Linked DNA regions of Homo sapiens: region 2 is linked to region 1. Evidence: promoter capture Hi-C in human tissues and cell types (Jung and others, 2019). All regions are on one chromosome and are shown on one strand. Each heading gives the region's core, a stretch centred on a gene start or on the middle of the fragment in contact. The rest is flanking DNA. Distances are from core to core; before and after follow the strand shown. Region 1 holds the start of SRI (sorcin). Region 2 overlaps ZNF804B (zinc finger protein 804B).

Evidence for each region. Contacts are between HindIII fragments. The study calls those that stand out against the background at their distance.
Region 2: a contact is called between a fragment that was not itself captured here and the fragment with the promoter of SRI in region 1, in 1 of the 25 tissues and cell types used here (mesenchymal stem cells).

What each region holds. Positions count from the first base shown.
Region 1 is chr7:88,216,865-88,224,684 of GRCh38, forward strand. SRI (sorcin) reads right to left here and starts at 3,174. Exons shown (of 8, transcript NM_003130.4): 1 at 3,112-3,174; 2 at 1,995-2,078; 3 at 258-327. The coding sequence starts at 3,162. It overlaps SRI-AS1 (SRI antisense RNA 1), which reads left to right. Exons shown (of 3, transcript NR_120517.1): 2 at 1,885-2,360. RefSeq lists silencers at 2,160-2,249, 2,897-3,396. The HindIII fragment of the contact is 24,276 bases long and covers 1-7,820 here.
Region 2 is chr7:89,296,533-89,303,693 of GRCh38, forward strand. All of the region lies in intron 2 of ZNF804B (zinc finger protein 804B), which reads left to right. Among named protein-coding and RNA genes, the nearest start is that of TEX47, 500 kb to the left of the region's middle. The HindIII fragment of the contact is 3,790 bases long and covers 1-3,416 here.

The DNA of each region.
Region 1 (7,820 bases), core at 1,924-4,423:
CTTGGCTTCAAGCGATCCTCCTGCCTGGGCCTCTGAAGTACTGGGATTACAGGTGTGAGCCACTGTGCCCAGCCTGGAGTGATTTAAAAACTGTTTTCAAATCAACATTTTGAAATAGTACTGTATTTTAGCTTTCGGAATTCTAAACTTTGCTAGATCCGACAAGCTCAGTTTTCTTGAAGGCTGTAATCACAAGTAACAGCTAAGATAGGAAACACAAGAGTATATTTAGACAAACTTTGGGACTGTCAACTTACGTTTGTATCCTCCAGCAATGCCAGACTGTGTCAGACATCTCTGCAATTCATCAGCATCTATCTGCCCATCCTTTTGAAAAAAAATTAGAGGAATCATAATAGTGATTTGTACTTTCAAGTTGTTTACCTTCAGCATTCAATGAAGCAATAACAACAAAGAAAATCAGTATCTTTTTTTTATTTAAAAGGAATGCCTTTTTTTTATTAAAAGGAATGCCTTCCAAAAGTGGGCATTCTTTTCCTTAACCCACTTCCAAAAGTAATTTAATGATGAAAGAAAGAGTCTGTCTTGGCAACTACTCTTCTCTCAATCTGAGCTAGCAAACTGCTACAGCTAAACATTTTAAAATATTTTTTTTTGATGGGGGTGGAGAGAGCAAGGTACAAAGCAGACATCAATAAATAGAAGGCTTGGTTCAAACAGAAAAAGGCCTCCTTGGTCACTTTTTCTTATGATATAGTGAATCATTTTTTTCAGAGCACAAATACATCTGGAAGATTCACATTAGGTTCCCAGTGCCCATTCACTGGCTGAACTGGGAAAGAACTAGATATATGTGATTTTTAGGGACTTTAAAATAAAATACCTAAATCTTCAAGTCACTGGGTATTATAAGTTATAAATGAGGAGCAAGATCAGCAATTTGAAAGACAATGGGTATGCTGAATACAGGCCAGGGCTGCTGAAAGCTAAGCAGGTGGAGTCACTTACATGCTGGAGGCACTGGCAATCTAAGAATGCTAGTCTTGAGGTTTGCCATGCCTTGTGGTTTCAAAGATACAGATCATTAACAGTTTAAGTAGATACTTAAGGGGAAGGTCTTCCAGTTTTAGACTATATTTTCCATTCAATTTCTTAAGCTGTATTTCTTAGAGTACTACCTTAAAAGTGGTCTTAGGTTTTTTATCCCATAATATTCTACAGTTTTCACATTAAGATTTTGCTATTTCTAGCTTTTGGTCAAAACAAAACTAGGTTGAATTCATAAGAACAAACATCTCCTCTGGACGTGTCTGGGTTATACCAACAGTATATTTACTGCACACAGTGACCTCATGAACTAGGGAAGTGTCCTCTCTCAATGTAAGATAGCACCTGTCAATGTAAGATAGCACCTGTCATACAACTCAGAATGCAGACAAGTGAAAGGTCTTGGGGAGCTGACCTTAATTGCTTCTCTGGGTCAACAGGCCAGAACACCTAATAAGGACATGGAGGGGCTGACCTAGTAACAGCATCTGCATCAAAGAGAAACTACACTGTTCACAAGATTAACTTTCTGATACTAAGAAGGGAACAGTAACTTCCTTATTTAGAAGCTGGTGGGTTTTTACCATATTTCCTAAGGGGGTGAATGATTAGCAATCAAGTTCAACCCAAAGAAAGTGCCCATTAGAATCGAGCTATGTAATTACTAATATATGTCTTTAAGTTGTACAAACAAGCGTTTATATTTACCAGATCTTGAATTTTTTCGCTTGAAACCATCCTGGACCCTTTAATTCAACCACAAGTTTGCTTTCGAACTGAACTCACATAAATACGAGTAACACTTTGTCCTCATTTATTCTGAACATTCAGAAATAAAAAACTAAAATAAGAAACAACTTTTTTTTTCTTTTGCAGAAGCAAAGGGACTCAGTACCACAGGAAGTTCGCTTTTCTGTGTCACTATATCAAAAGCTACCACAAATGCAGACAATAACGGCTCTTTAATATTAAAGGGAAAAGCTAACCTGTCCAGCTACAGCAGCAAAGTAACCATACAGCGGATCCTGAGTTTGTCCGGGAAACGCAGGCCCTCCGGGAGCCCCTCCATACTGTGAAACAGGAAACACATACACGTCATTCTGCCGAATCAAGTTTTCTTCTTTCACCACTGAGGGCTTTTGTGCAAGGCCAGACAACTGCCCGCCTGCCCGCCCTTCACAAGGCTCACCTCCCCACCACCGGGCACACTCTGCCAACACTCCACCCCTCTCTTCCATTCACACCCCGTAATTTAAAAACTGGCGACTTAGACCATAAAGAGTTGCTGTGAAAGTGATGTCTACATATGTAAAGCAACTTTTAAAATCCCTATTAACCTGAAGGTTACTGAGGTGAGTGCAAACTAGGTAAGCCAACGAATGGCAGGGCTTCAAATTCTCCTTTTGTTGTTACAGCATTTATGGTATTTTAAGAGCGTTTTATGAACGATGGAAGGCTGGAGTTGGTAACATTCTGAGACGGGTGTAGCCTAGGGAAGAGTAAGGTGTCCGGCCGGGCTGTATCTCGTGGGTGGCGAGGGAACATTGCCTGTCTCGGAAACAGTTCCCAAGACAACGCGCATCCCAGACGCCCGGCGAGGCTGCCTTCCTACAGGTCTTTTACTTCAGCAGGTTTTCCCTTTTTTTCCGTCCCCCTTCTCACTCGTTTTTTGTTTGTTTGTTTGTTTGTTTGTTTGTTTGTTTTTTAAAGGGAGGAAGGTATATCATTCTAGAATAAAATGACTGTTGTTGCTCTGGGAGGCAACCAAGAAGGCGGGGGTGGGGTGGGGTGGGGGTCAGCCAACACCCAATTAACACGATTTCACGCCGCGTATCCGAGAAGCCGCAGGGTGGGCTTCTAGGGTCCCAATCCACCCTCACCTTGGCCCCGCAGGGCCATCCAGGAGAAGGGACGGGGAAACGTGGGGAGAGGCCGAACCCCAGGGGCCTAGGGCGAGGCCGCGAGCGCAGGGAGAAGCCGAGGGCGGAAGGAGCCCGGGTAGCCGCCCAGCAGCGCCTCACCCCGCTGGCCGCAGCATCTCCAAGGTGGCCTCTTAGCGCCCCGGAGCCGCCTGGGCCGCGATCCCGCGCAGTCAGCACTTACCCCGCCTGGGTAGTACCCGCCGCCGGCGCCAGGATGCCCCGGGTACGCCATGCTGCAGACTGCGCCGCAGCCGCCCTCGCCCTGTGCGCCAGGCCTCTCCGCCCCCTGCCCCGCCCCGCCCTGCCGCTAGGGGGCCGCCCCAGAGCGCACCACGCGGGCGTGGGGGACGCGCTCCGCAGTCGTCTCCAGCTCTTGCCTGTGCGCGCGGCCGTGGCTCCCCTGCCTGCGCGCTTCTTCGTATCTTTGCCATTACGGCGCTAATGCAGTGCACGACTGAAGGTCCAGTGGCGGCCTACGACCTGCGAGGCAATTCACACCAGGGACTTTCCTCCCTCCAAAACTAATGGCACATTCCAACACCAATACACCACCCCAGGAATTCTTTTTTTTTTTTTTTCCTTCGGACTTGGCTATTATCTGGCACATTTCTTATTTTAAACAACTTTATTGGACAGGACGGAGCTATTATAAGCGGAGCGCACCATCGCGAGGCAGGGGCTGGATGCGTTAGGGCAAGCCTTAGGTGCCAGTGGGTGAAGGAGTCTTTGAAAGATGGAAATACGAAAGCGCCCTTGGAAAATAAGAATTAACTTGACGAACTGTGTGCAAGGGAGAGTTTGGCTTGCTGTTGGTTGCAGAGTTCACTGAACGACAACGGCGTATTTCCTTCCTAGGGGACAATTCCTTGCCTGTTTAAGCTGAGCGTGACTTGTGTCCTGAGTAGGACAGAGGGCATTTTCCGGGCAGGACAGACTCACACATATCGTTCTTAGGAAAATGAATTGTTTGAATTATCTGGATGATTCAGACAAAACAATCCATTTCCCTAAAAGTATTCAGCTACTTTTTATATAAGAAAAGTTTAGAACAAACTAATAGTGTACTGGTAAGTATTCAGGAAGATAAGAGATAGGAACTTCTATGTAGGTTATTCTTCTTTACTTCATATATTTTTCTATCTTCCAGTTGAATAGTCCGAAGCAATTCAGGCGTGAGCTTTTTGTTTTGTTTTGTGTAATTTCAATGACAGAAAATTGCTTGCCCTTCACTGTTAAGGACTAGACTTAATGATTTCCTGAATTTTAACGTATTGAGAAACGCATTAATAAGCAAGATTCACAGTATTTGTTGTGGAGGTTGCACAGAAACATTTAAAGGGTCATCAACATTTCACAAATATTGGAGCACCCGCCAATGTGGTACTGTGCTTTTTCGCTGTGGTGGACGGGCTTCCTCCATTCTAAATTCGTGGGCTATTGTCCTCATTCGGTTCATTGTTTTTCTCTTGTGTGTAACTTCCCTCGCAAGCCCTTTTGAAAACCAAAGTCCGAATTGTGAGAAAAATTCTAATAGTCCCTGTTGTGGCATAGCAAAGACACTGCATGTTGCCTGTTTTGTGTTTGATTCAGGAAGCAGGTTACTGTTTTCAATCATCAAGGTAGCAATCATCAAGGTAGATGAGACATCTAATGAGTCCCCTGGTCTCTCTTTGGAAGCCTGTTTCTTCAGAAAGAGGTAACCGACTATAAAGAGTAGATGTCAGGGCCGAACTCGATGTTGAGTACAAGCTCAAGACTCAAGTTTGAAAGAAGTATAAAGCATATAAAATATTTTTAAGTACTGCAGAATTAGCTTCGTGGATAAACGGCTATACGAATTGGCATATCAGTTGTCCTTAGACATCTTCCCACTGCTTTACTGCTAAAGAATTGAATTTTTTTTTTAATTACACTTTAAGTTTTAGGGTACATGTGAACATTGTGCAGGTTGGTTACATATGTATACATGTGCCATGCTGGTGCGCTGCACCCACTAACTCGTCATCTAGCATTAGGTATATCTCCCAATGCTATCCCTCTCCCCTCCCCCCACCCCACCACAGTCCCTAGAGTGTGATATTCCCCTTCCTGTGTCCATGTGATCTCATCGTTCAGTTCCCACCTATGAGTGAGAATATGCGGTGTTTGGTTTTTTGGTCTTGCGATAGTTTACTGAGAATGATGATTTCCAATTTCATCCATGTCCCTACAAAGGACATGAACTCATCATTTTTTATGGCTGCATAGTATTCCATGGTGTATATGTGCCACATTTTCTTAATCCAGTCTATCATTGTTGGACATTTGGGTTGGTTCCAAGTCTTTGCTATTGTGAATAATGCCGCAATAAACATACGTGTGCATGTGTCTTTATAGCAGCATGATTTATAGTCCTTTGGGTATATACCCAGTAATGGGATGGCGGGTCAAATGGTAATTCTAGTTCTAGATCCCTGAGGAATCGCCACACTGACTTCCACAATGGTTGAACTAGTTTACAGTCCCACCAACAGTGTAAAAGTGTTCCTATTTCTCCACATCCTCTCCAGCACCTGTTGTTTCCTGACTTTTTAATGATTGCCATTCTAACTGGTGTGAGATGGTATCTCATAGTGGTTTTGATTTGCATTTCTCTGATGGCCAGTGATGATGAGCATTTTTTCATGTGTTTTTTGGCTGCATAAATGTCTTCTTTTGAGAAGTGTCTGTTCATGTCCTTCGCCCACTTTTTGATGGGGTTGTTTGTTTTTTTCTTGTAAATTTGTTTGAGTTCACTGTAGATTCTGGATATTAGCCCTCAAACTATACTACAAGGCTACAGTAACCAAAACAGCATGGTACTGGTACCAAAACAGAGATATAGATCAATGGAACAGAACAAAGCCCTCAGAAATAACGCCGCATACCTACAACTATCTGATCTTTGACAAACCTGACAAAAAGAAGAAATGGGGAAAGGATTCCCTATTTAATAAATGGTGCTGGGAAAACAGGCTAGCCATATGTAGGAAGCTAAAACTGGATCCCTTCCTTACACCTTATACAAAAATCAATTCAAGATGGATTAAAGATTTAAACGTTAGACCTAAAACCATAAAAACCCTAGAAGAAAACCTAGGCATTACCATTCAGGACATAGGCATGGGCAAGGACTTCATGTCCAAAACACCAAAAGCAATGGCAACAAAAGACAAAATTGACAAATGGGATCTAATTAAACTAAAGAGCTTCTGCACAGCAAAAGAAACTACCATCAGAGTGAACAGGCAACCTACAAAATGGGAGAAAATTTTCGCTACCTACTCATCTGACAAAGAATTGAATTTTAATGGAGTGTTGCAAATTCAATTCTTACAATTATTGCTAACAAATTGGTCAGCTGCTAATACTTTAGTTTGCTGGAAAAAATTGTGGCAACTTATAATACCATCAGACATATATATAATAATAAAAATATGCCAGATCCTCATCGCATTTTACTTATTTGCTTAATCTTAATAAAAACCCATGGGATAGGTACTATTGTCATTCCTATTATACAGTTTTGAGGAAGGGGAAGGAACAGAACAGAGCTGAGCTATGCTGCCAAGCCATCTGACTCTAGAGTCTGTGCTCTACACCCAGGGGCAGGTAAAGGGCCAGGTAGTAAATATTTTAGGCCTGTGGGCCATACAGTCTCTGTATGAGAGAGTCTACATACATAGTGGTATGTAGACTATGTAGTCATAGTGGTATGGCCAAATACCACTCAACTCTGCTGTGTAGGCCACAAGTATCCATAGACAATAGATAAATGAATGGATGTCGCTGGGTTCCAATGCAACTTTATTTATAGACACTGAAATTTGAATTTCATATGACATGAAATATTATGCTTAATTTTATTTTTCCAACCATTTAAAAATGTAAATATTATTCTGAGCTCTTGGATGTACAGAAATAGGAGGTGGGTCAGATTTGGCCTTTGGGCAGTAGTTTACCAACCACTGCTGGAAGCCCCTCCAGAATGCGGGCTTATGACTCTGGCAGTTTAGCACTTTAGCAAATGATTTGCTGACTGTAAGATAAAGCCTATGGGTAGAATACAGTTATTTGTCAGAACGATTTACTAAGTCCTAAAAAAAAGACTGTAGGAGGGTTGTGACAACAGCATGGGTTAGGGAGAGAACTATGTGAGGTTTATAGATAGGATGCAGGTCATGGTTATTTTGGGAAGTCATTGGAATTACAGAAACCTTTCTGATCATATACTCCAATCCTGCTGTTTACAGAAGAAAAGACCAAGGCTGAGAGATGGCAAATATCTGGCCCCAGCTCTTGAAGAGCAGACCTAGCCAGATGTAGATATTTCACCCTTCCCAATTAAAGCTGTGACAGTAGATAAACATGCTCTCAGAGAGAATCCCATTCTTTTGTGGTACACCTTCCCTAATTATGTTTTCAAGACAAACGGCAGTGTGGACACTTTCTTATTCCTGGAGAAAAGTTAATATAAAGCTCTACATATAGTATCCAACCTGGACTTCTTCGCTCAGATAAGTGGTGAAAGAAATAGTGTCTAACTAAGTAACTGTAGTTATTTCACCATACCTGCAGTTGAATTAACCATAGGTCTTCACTTGTTAGGAAGAAATGAGCAATGACATTTGCCAATTTAAAGTTTCAATTTTTGTTTAGTTCTGATCTGGGTGTGGCACCTCATGATTTAAAGACCTCTGCCTTAGAGAGAAGCTCAGATCTCCAAATGTAAGTGGAAATGAGCATTTGATAACAACATAGGTAACCAATTAATAGTATCTCCACTTTCTTAAGATTGTTGGGAAAGAGTGTGAAGCCTATGATGTTCATTTGGGAATAAAAGCCACCCTTTTTCTTGAACTGTCCGGAGTA
Region 2 (7,161 bases), core at 272-2,771, 1.1 Mb after region 1:
ATAAATTGTAGGTTTTTCTACAAGGCTCATTACTGATTCCTTTCAGAGCTCATTTTCCTACAAAATACATAGGAGATCTCAGCGTCCTAAACCAGACTAAACTTTTGAATTGTTGTGTGTAGTAGACCCCAATACTTGACAAATTATCCACTCCAATTAACTATTAACGTAAGTTCTTTAATGTAGAGTCTCAGCATGTAGCCTGCTAAATTTTTAAAAAGAGCCAGCCACCTTTCCTCTCCCTAAACTGTAAAACAGAGAACTTAATAGGTAATTCTGTAACACTTTCTGATAGCTTTCTCCTTAATGAGCTGCTGGCCTGTGTCTCAGAGTCCACTTCCTTAAATGAGAAGAGCATGGTTTTCATGTCAACTATTTTAATATTGACTTCTTTTATACTCATTTTGTTAAGAAATCAACTGAGTCAAATATGACTACTTATAGTTTTTATTGCTTTGCACTAACCAATAATTATGTGTACAAAATTGAGCGGTCAAGAAATATAAGCTTAACATAGCCCCTCAGCTGTAAATGCTTTCATGAATACTAAATCATATAAAACTATCTTAATTAGTATAGGTAGATGTGTTCTGCCTGACCAGGTCACAATTTCAAGTAGCATGTACTAAAACTATGTTTTAATTCTCCTTTTTTAGCTCCTTTTTAATGGCTTCCTACTAAGTTCAATTAATTGGACACATGCTGTCCCGGAGTAGCAAACTTAAAAATATGTGTGTTTTTATGTTGATGAAATGTTTTCTCTTTAGGGTCTAAAAGTTATTACCAGAGGCAACTGGTCTTGCTGTCTAAATAGATAAGAATTGCTTACTATTAACTATGCTAAATAATAACCATCATTCTTAAAAGTTATTCTCCAAAAATGAAGCATTCATTTTAGTCATACATCAGTTCTGGAGACAAACGTACTGGAGACAAATGTACATAGTCCACAGAAGCCTATGTTGCTATATCTATGATAGGTAAATCGTAATATATTTTTTGAAAGAGTTGAGGCCCAAATTAAATATGCTGCAGAACTTTGACATTTCTGAGCATTTATCACTTTATTTGGGGGTAGGGTACCTTTCCTTTTGATGTAGTTTCAGATTTACAGAAATAGTACAAAGAACTCTCATATATCCCTAGATTCACCAGTTATTTATATTTTCTCTATATTCTGTATTACTCTCTATGAAGATATGGATGTAATATTTTTTCTAACCATTTGAGAGGATATTGGAGACCTTTAAGCCTAAATATTCATGTGCACTTTTGAAGAGTAAGGACATTATTTTACATAAACACAGAGCAATTCCAAAGTTGGGAAATTTAGATAGCACTATTTTTAATCCCCATATTCAAATTCCATAAACTGTATCAATAATATTCTTTAGAGATATTGTTTCCTGGGTCTAGGATCTAATCTAGGATCAGGCATTACATTTACTTAATTTTTTTTTTTTTTTAGTTCCTCTAATCTAGAACACTGTTAACCTATGCCCATATGTCTGCAGTTTCTTTTTCTTCAGGTAAAATTTCCATTCAGTGAACTACACATATTTAGAGAGTTGACAAAGGCCTCTATTTCATATAAATATATATATATATATCATATATATAGTATATATATATATTTCATATATATATAGTGTGTATATATATCTATATAGTGTGTGTGTGTGTGTATATATATATATATATATATATATATATATATATATATATACTTTAAGTTCTAGGTTACATGTGCAGAACGTGCAGGTTTATTACATAGGTATACACGTGCCATGGTGGTTTGCTGCACCCATCAACCCATCATCTACATTAGGTATTTCTCCTAATGCTCTCCCTCCCCTAGCCCCCACCCCACAACAGGCCCTGGTGTGTGATGTTCCCTCTATTTCTATAATCAGCACTACTATTAATATACAGGACATCTCTGTTCTCCTCAAAAGTGGGATTACGTAGTATATGCTATTTTATGTTTGGCTTTTTTAGTTCAGCATAATGACTATGTGATAATACATCTGTGTCTTTGCATGTATCTGTTGTTCATACCTTGTATTACAAAGCAATAATTAATTATCTATATATGGCAAAAATAACTTATTCCTGTGTTGACAGCTGTTTAGACTGTTACGAAAAAGCTTCTTTGTAACTTTTTGTACAAATTTTATTATATTTGGTGCATATGTATTTTCATATATATATTTTTAGTAAATAGAAACAGAATCACTATATCATAAGGTAAATATATGTTCAATTTTACTAAAACCTGGCAAAACCTTTTTCAAAGTGGTTGATCCATATTACATCCCTACCAGCTATGTGTGAAAGTTGCCAGTTCTAAAGAACAGGCAAAATGGATCGATGTGAAAAAAAAAATTAGAAAATGGATTGTCTCAGGGTTGCGATAATTTCAGAGTGACTAATAAAGTGAATTTTGGACTTAACTTGGAGACCTTTATGGCCCATTTTTCTCAGATACCACACCTACTTCTTATTAAGAATTCCAGTCAGACTTCTCAACTTTCATAATAGATATTCCATCCTTCTTTTCACCTCTTTGTTTTCCAAAGCTTAAGAACTACCATATATATAGATTGCTAGCATTTTAAACTCATGTGCAAGATTTTATGAGCAAACTGTCTGCTTTTCAGTTTTTAATCACAAACTTAACTAAGAGAATTGATATTCAAGGAAGATGGTCTATTTGACCAACTATTCATGTATTACTCTAGGAATTCTATGTTATGTCCTATTATCAGGTCACACAGCCCAAATGTCAGTTATCTGTAACATGTTATTTTGCATATAAAAAATCTATGTTGCTAGATTGCAATTCAAAATAAAAGTTCTTATTTTTTATTTGCTTGTTTGACAGTTGAAATTCTATTGATGTTTATAATGAAAATACTTGCTTTTTTCTCCTCTCTAGGATTCTGATTACTATTTCAGTTTTATTCATATATGCCAACTAAAGGCATTTCTGAAGTGAAATATCACAGTTTTAAACCTTCAAATACAAGTTAAAAGAAAAATATCCACAACAACAACAACAAAACTCAGCTGGCTTATTCAGAGTGCTTTTCAGCAATTTACTCACTTTGGGAATATCTAGTTTTCTTTGTGGATTAAACACGTCTGACGTGACTCACTGCTCTAAAATTCCCAGTTTTGAAGTAATATTTTGTTTTATTTGTCCTAAGAGACTGAGGGTTAACTGCTTTCTCCCATTTAGCTCTTAAAATGTATCAGTTTATTTACAGTATTTAACATACATATATTAGGACCTTCTTATTCTATAAAAATAGAACTACTTGTTTAATTAAACCACTAATTGCCTTAGCCAAAGGAAAACATCTTACTGAAATAAATGATTTGTCTTGGTAATAGAAGTGTCAAAAGTGCAAATAGATCCCTAATTGCTAGATAATTTCCCAACAATTAATTCTGCTGCTTAAGTATTCCCCAGCTAGCTCCATGTTGCCTCTCATTTTAGATCAGCACATCACCATCTCCTGCTTGATTATTTCTTTGCCTCCAGTCTTGCCCACTTTATCTACGCTACTACCTTTCATCTTTATAAAGTACAGTTACGGCCATGTCACTCTGCTGTATGAGACATTCCATTGTCTTCCTTCTCATACCACTGTATAGTTCAAAATAAAGCCTAACCTCTTTATGTTGGCTTAAAAGCCCTTCATAATTCAAGTTATTTCTGTCTCATCTCTTACCTTCCCCTATTTTGCACCCCTACTCCATTTATAACCATTTTCTAGCCTTATAAATGTCCTTCTCTTCCATGTGAATCTTTGTGTATGCCCTCTTTTTTTTTTAACCTGGAACACTCTACAGCAGCTTTTATACTTCATGCACTTAATGACTACTCTTCCTGTGATGTACTACTGAGTAGAGGAAAAAGTTAGAGCTATTTTTAATTAGTGGTGAAGGTAAGCCTCTGACAGCATGATATTGGATTCTGAAGATGAGAAAACAGCCTTCTAAGGAGAAATATGAGTGGTCTAGAAAGGGCAGAAGTCCTGAACTGGGGAAGATTATGGCATATTTGAGTCATAGAAAAAAGTCAGCATAGCTGGAGAGCATTGGAATGGAGAGAGAGGCAGAGTAGAGAGAATGACAGAAGATGAAACTGGAGAGGTATATACTGAGTGCCTAAATCATGTGTGATATCACAGACCATTCCAAAGACCTTGGATTTTAGTCTAAGATCATTTCTAAGCCACTAATAAGCTTTAATCAGGCAAAAGGCTTAATCTGAAAAAAGTTTTGAAGAGATTGCTCTGTTTGTATTGTAAACAGTGGATAGAAGTGGAGGAGGGTGAAATTGGCAGCTGAGAGATCTGCTAGATCTCTCTAGCAGTAGGTGGCATCCAGGAAGAAAATAATGATGGCTTGGGTAGGTGTAAGCATTGCACAGGGATAAAAGCTACTAATATATAACTTAGGGGATGAGCTAAACAGAACTTGCTGAGGAATAGGGAGTTGATAAAAATCCTCTTATATTTATGTAGAGAATTTCAGAGATTGGAATTTTTCAAGCGTGTTTTTTTTTTTTTTTTTTTTTTTGGTGGTGGTTCTCTTTTTTTCCGCAACAGTAACAATGCATCAACAAAAAATTCTGATAGATACCTTAAACTTACCACACACTTATTTTGACAGCTTTTCGTCTTATTTTTTAGAGTTTAGCTGATCTCCTTGATAAACAAGTTTATTCATGGATGGCTGAAACATGCTTATTATTTATATCAACTAAATAAAGTGGCCTGCAGTCGTTGATCTTGACAGGACAATGCAATAGCTTTCTTGCTGATGTGACTCATTATTTTCTCTTCCAAACTCACCCTGTGAACCCTATGCACCACCATCACAATTTCCTCAAGAACCATTTCAATTAATTTTCTTTTCTGCTTAATATAGTTTTTATAGCCCACTATACTCAGGACTAGGTTTATCTTTCAGGCTTCATTTCTCTTTTCTTTTCCTCATGAATGCAATGTTTCAGCTAAAAATAGCTAGTTAGTATTCCTTGAATCCTCCAGAATTTTATCATTATTTTGTCTTTACTCTTGCAGTCTTTCACAGGACATATTAATATCGTATCTCTAAAACAAAATTCTACTACCCTTAGAGCTTGGAATGAGAGTAATGCATAGTAGTTAAGAAAATTAGCTTTGCAGTTAAAGAATCATAGGTGAGAATTCTGCCTCTGTCACTTAATAGATGCGTGACCCCAGCAAGTTCTTAGCCTAAGGACCAGTTTCCCTTTCTCTGAGATGGGGAAGATGAGAGTATCTACTTTATGATGTTGCACTAAAAATTAAATAAGATCTTACCTGCAACACATTTTATAACATTGTTTGACATAAATTAAGCACCGAACAAATGATAGGTATCAATATCTTTATTAAGGTTCACTTTAAATGCTATGACTTTATATGAAAAACCCATGGCATCAGCTTGAACTATCAACTTGAATGTGATGTTATATATTCCCATTGCTGTTATATATATTATGAGACATATATACATAAGCACAAACAATGTCTTACATGTTCATTATCATAACCAATTGTCTACATCTGTTGCATCATTCTTTCCACATTCTGCTGTGCAATAAGATTGTGTGTATACCAAATATATGATAATTTTTTTTGTCCCATATCCAATTCTTAGATAAAGATTTATACCCTCCTTTCACATTGCTTGTACCTGTATTAGAGTTAAGCCTCAGCTCTCTGAACTCTACATGAGAGTTAAGCCTCAGCTCTCTCCAACCCTGTCACAGCTATCGGGGACATGGATGGACCCTTGGTGTTAGTTGTTTCAGGTACATTCTTTTCCTCCATTACTTAGAAATCAGAGCCTGAGAATATGTCATCTTGGGCAATGTTAACCTAGAGCTTGGAATGGCCATGTTCAGATCTAATGCATTATAAAATAGAGGAAGTTATGCTAGAGAGAGAGAGAGAAAGAGACAGAAGAATGATATAGTTGATCACAGAGAAGGAGAGATGGGAGACCATGCAGTCCTTTATTGACAGATAAAATAATTTCAATTCATAGCTTCCTTGTTCCTGGTGTCAGTCCATTTTGCAATCTAGCTACACTTCCTGCCAGGTCTTTTGGTGAAATAGCCTATAGTCTTCCATGAAATTATCTTCAGTTTTAGTAGATTTTGTTACTAACACATAAACCATCTTTGTAAGAGGCCACATGCCTATCTCCATTCCCTTCAAGCACTGTAGCTGCATGAATATCTTTTCCATCTTCATCTAGGTCAGTGCCTAACACAGAGCAGCAGTAACAACCTGATGGCAATAAATTGGTTTTACCATTGCTCACAGTCTAGAATTTAACACAATACTATTCAGGCACAAAATCAAGCTGATTTAAAAGTAAATTTAAATTAATTTTCTTTGAAAACGTTGGTAGTGTTTTATAAAAATCCTTGAGATTTTCTCTGAGATCCTGGGCTGGGAATTACTATATTAAACCAAAGTGTAGTAAGTATCAAAACTGGCTTTACATATGAGTGTGTCTCATACATTTGGAAAAAGCCAAGATGTTTCTGGATTGAGATCTTCTTCTAGTAAATAATAGCTTCTTTGAAGCTGTGTTGTATTCCAGACATTTCACTTATTAACCAAGGAGAAGGCAGATATTTGTATATTGCTGGCATGAAGACATTCTAAATTTCACATTCTAAATCTCAAATGGATATTTCAAAGCTTTCATAGTTGTATTTTTTGAAACTTCAATTTATGTAGACTAGAAAATATAACTATTTTGAAATATAATTTAAAATTATTGGTCCTGTGAAGATGGCAATGTCGTGATTCCAAGGGAGAGTAATGATGTGTTAAAAGGTACACAAAAAGTTAATCAGAGAAAATAGATTGCAGAGGTTACCAGCTAGGGCTCAGGAGTCAAGCAGCTTGGACCTCAAATAAATTCTGTAAAATTAATTGCTACTTGTATAATTCTGAGCAAGTTATCCAACATCTCTTAGCCTCAGTTTTCTTATCTTAAACATCAGGATGTAGATGCAAATAGTACTCACAGAGTTTGGGAAAAATTAAATCAAGCTATTTAAGCAAAAGTTTTGGCATTATATCTGACATGTGAAAATCTTACAAT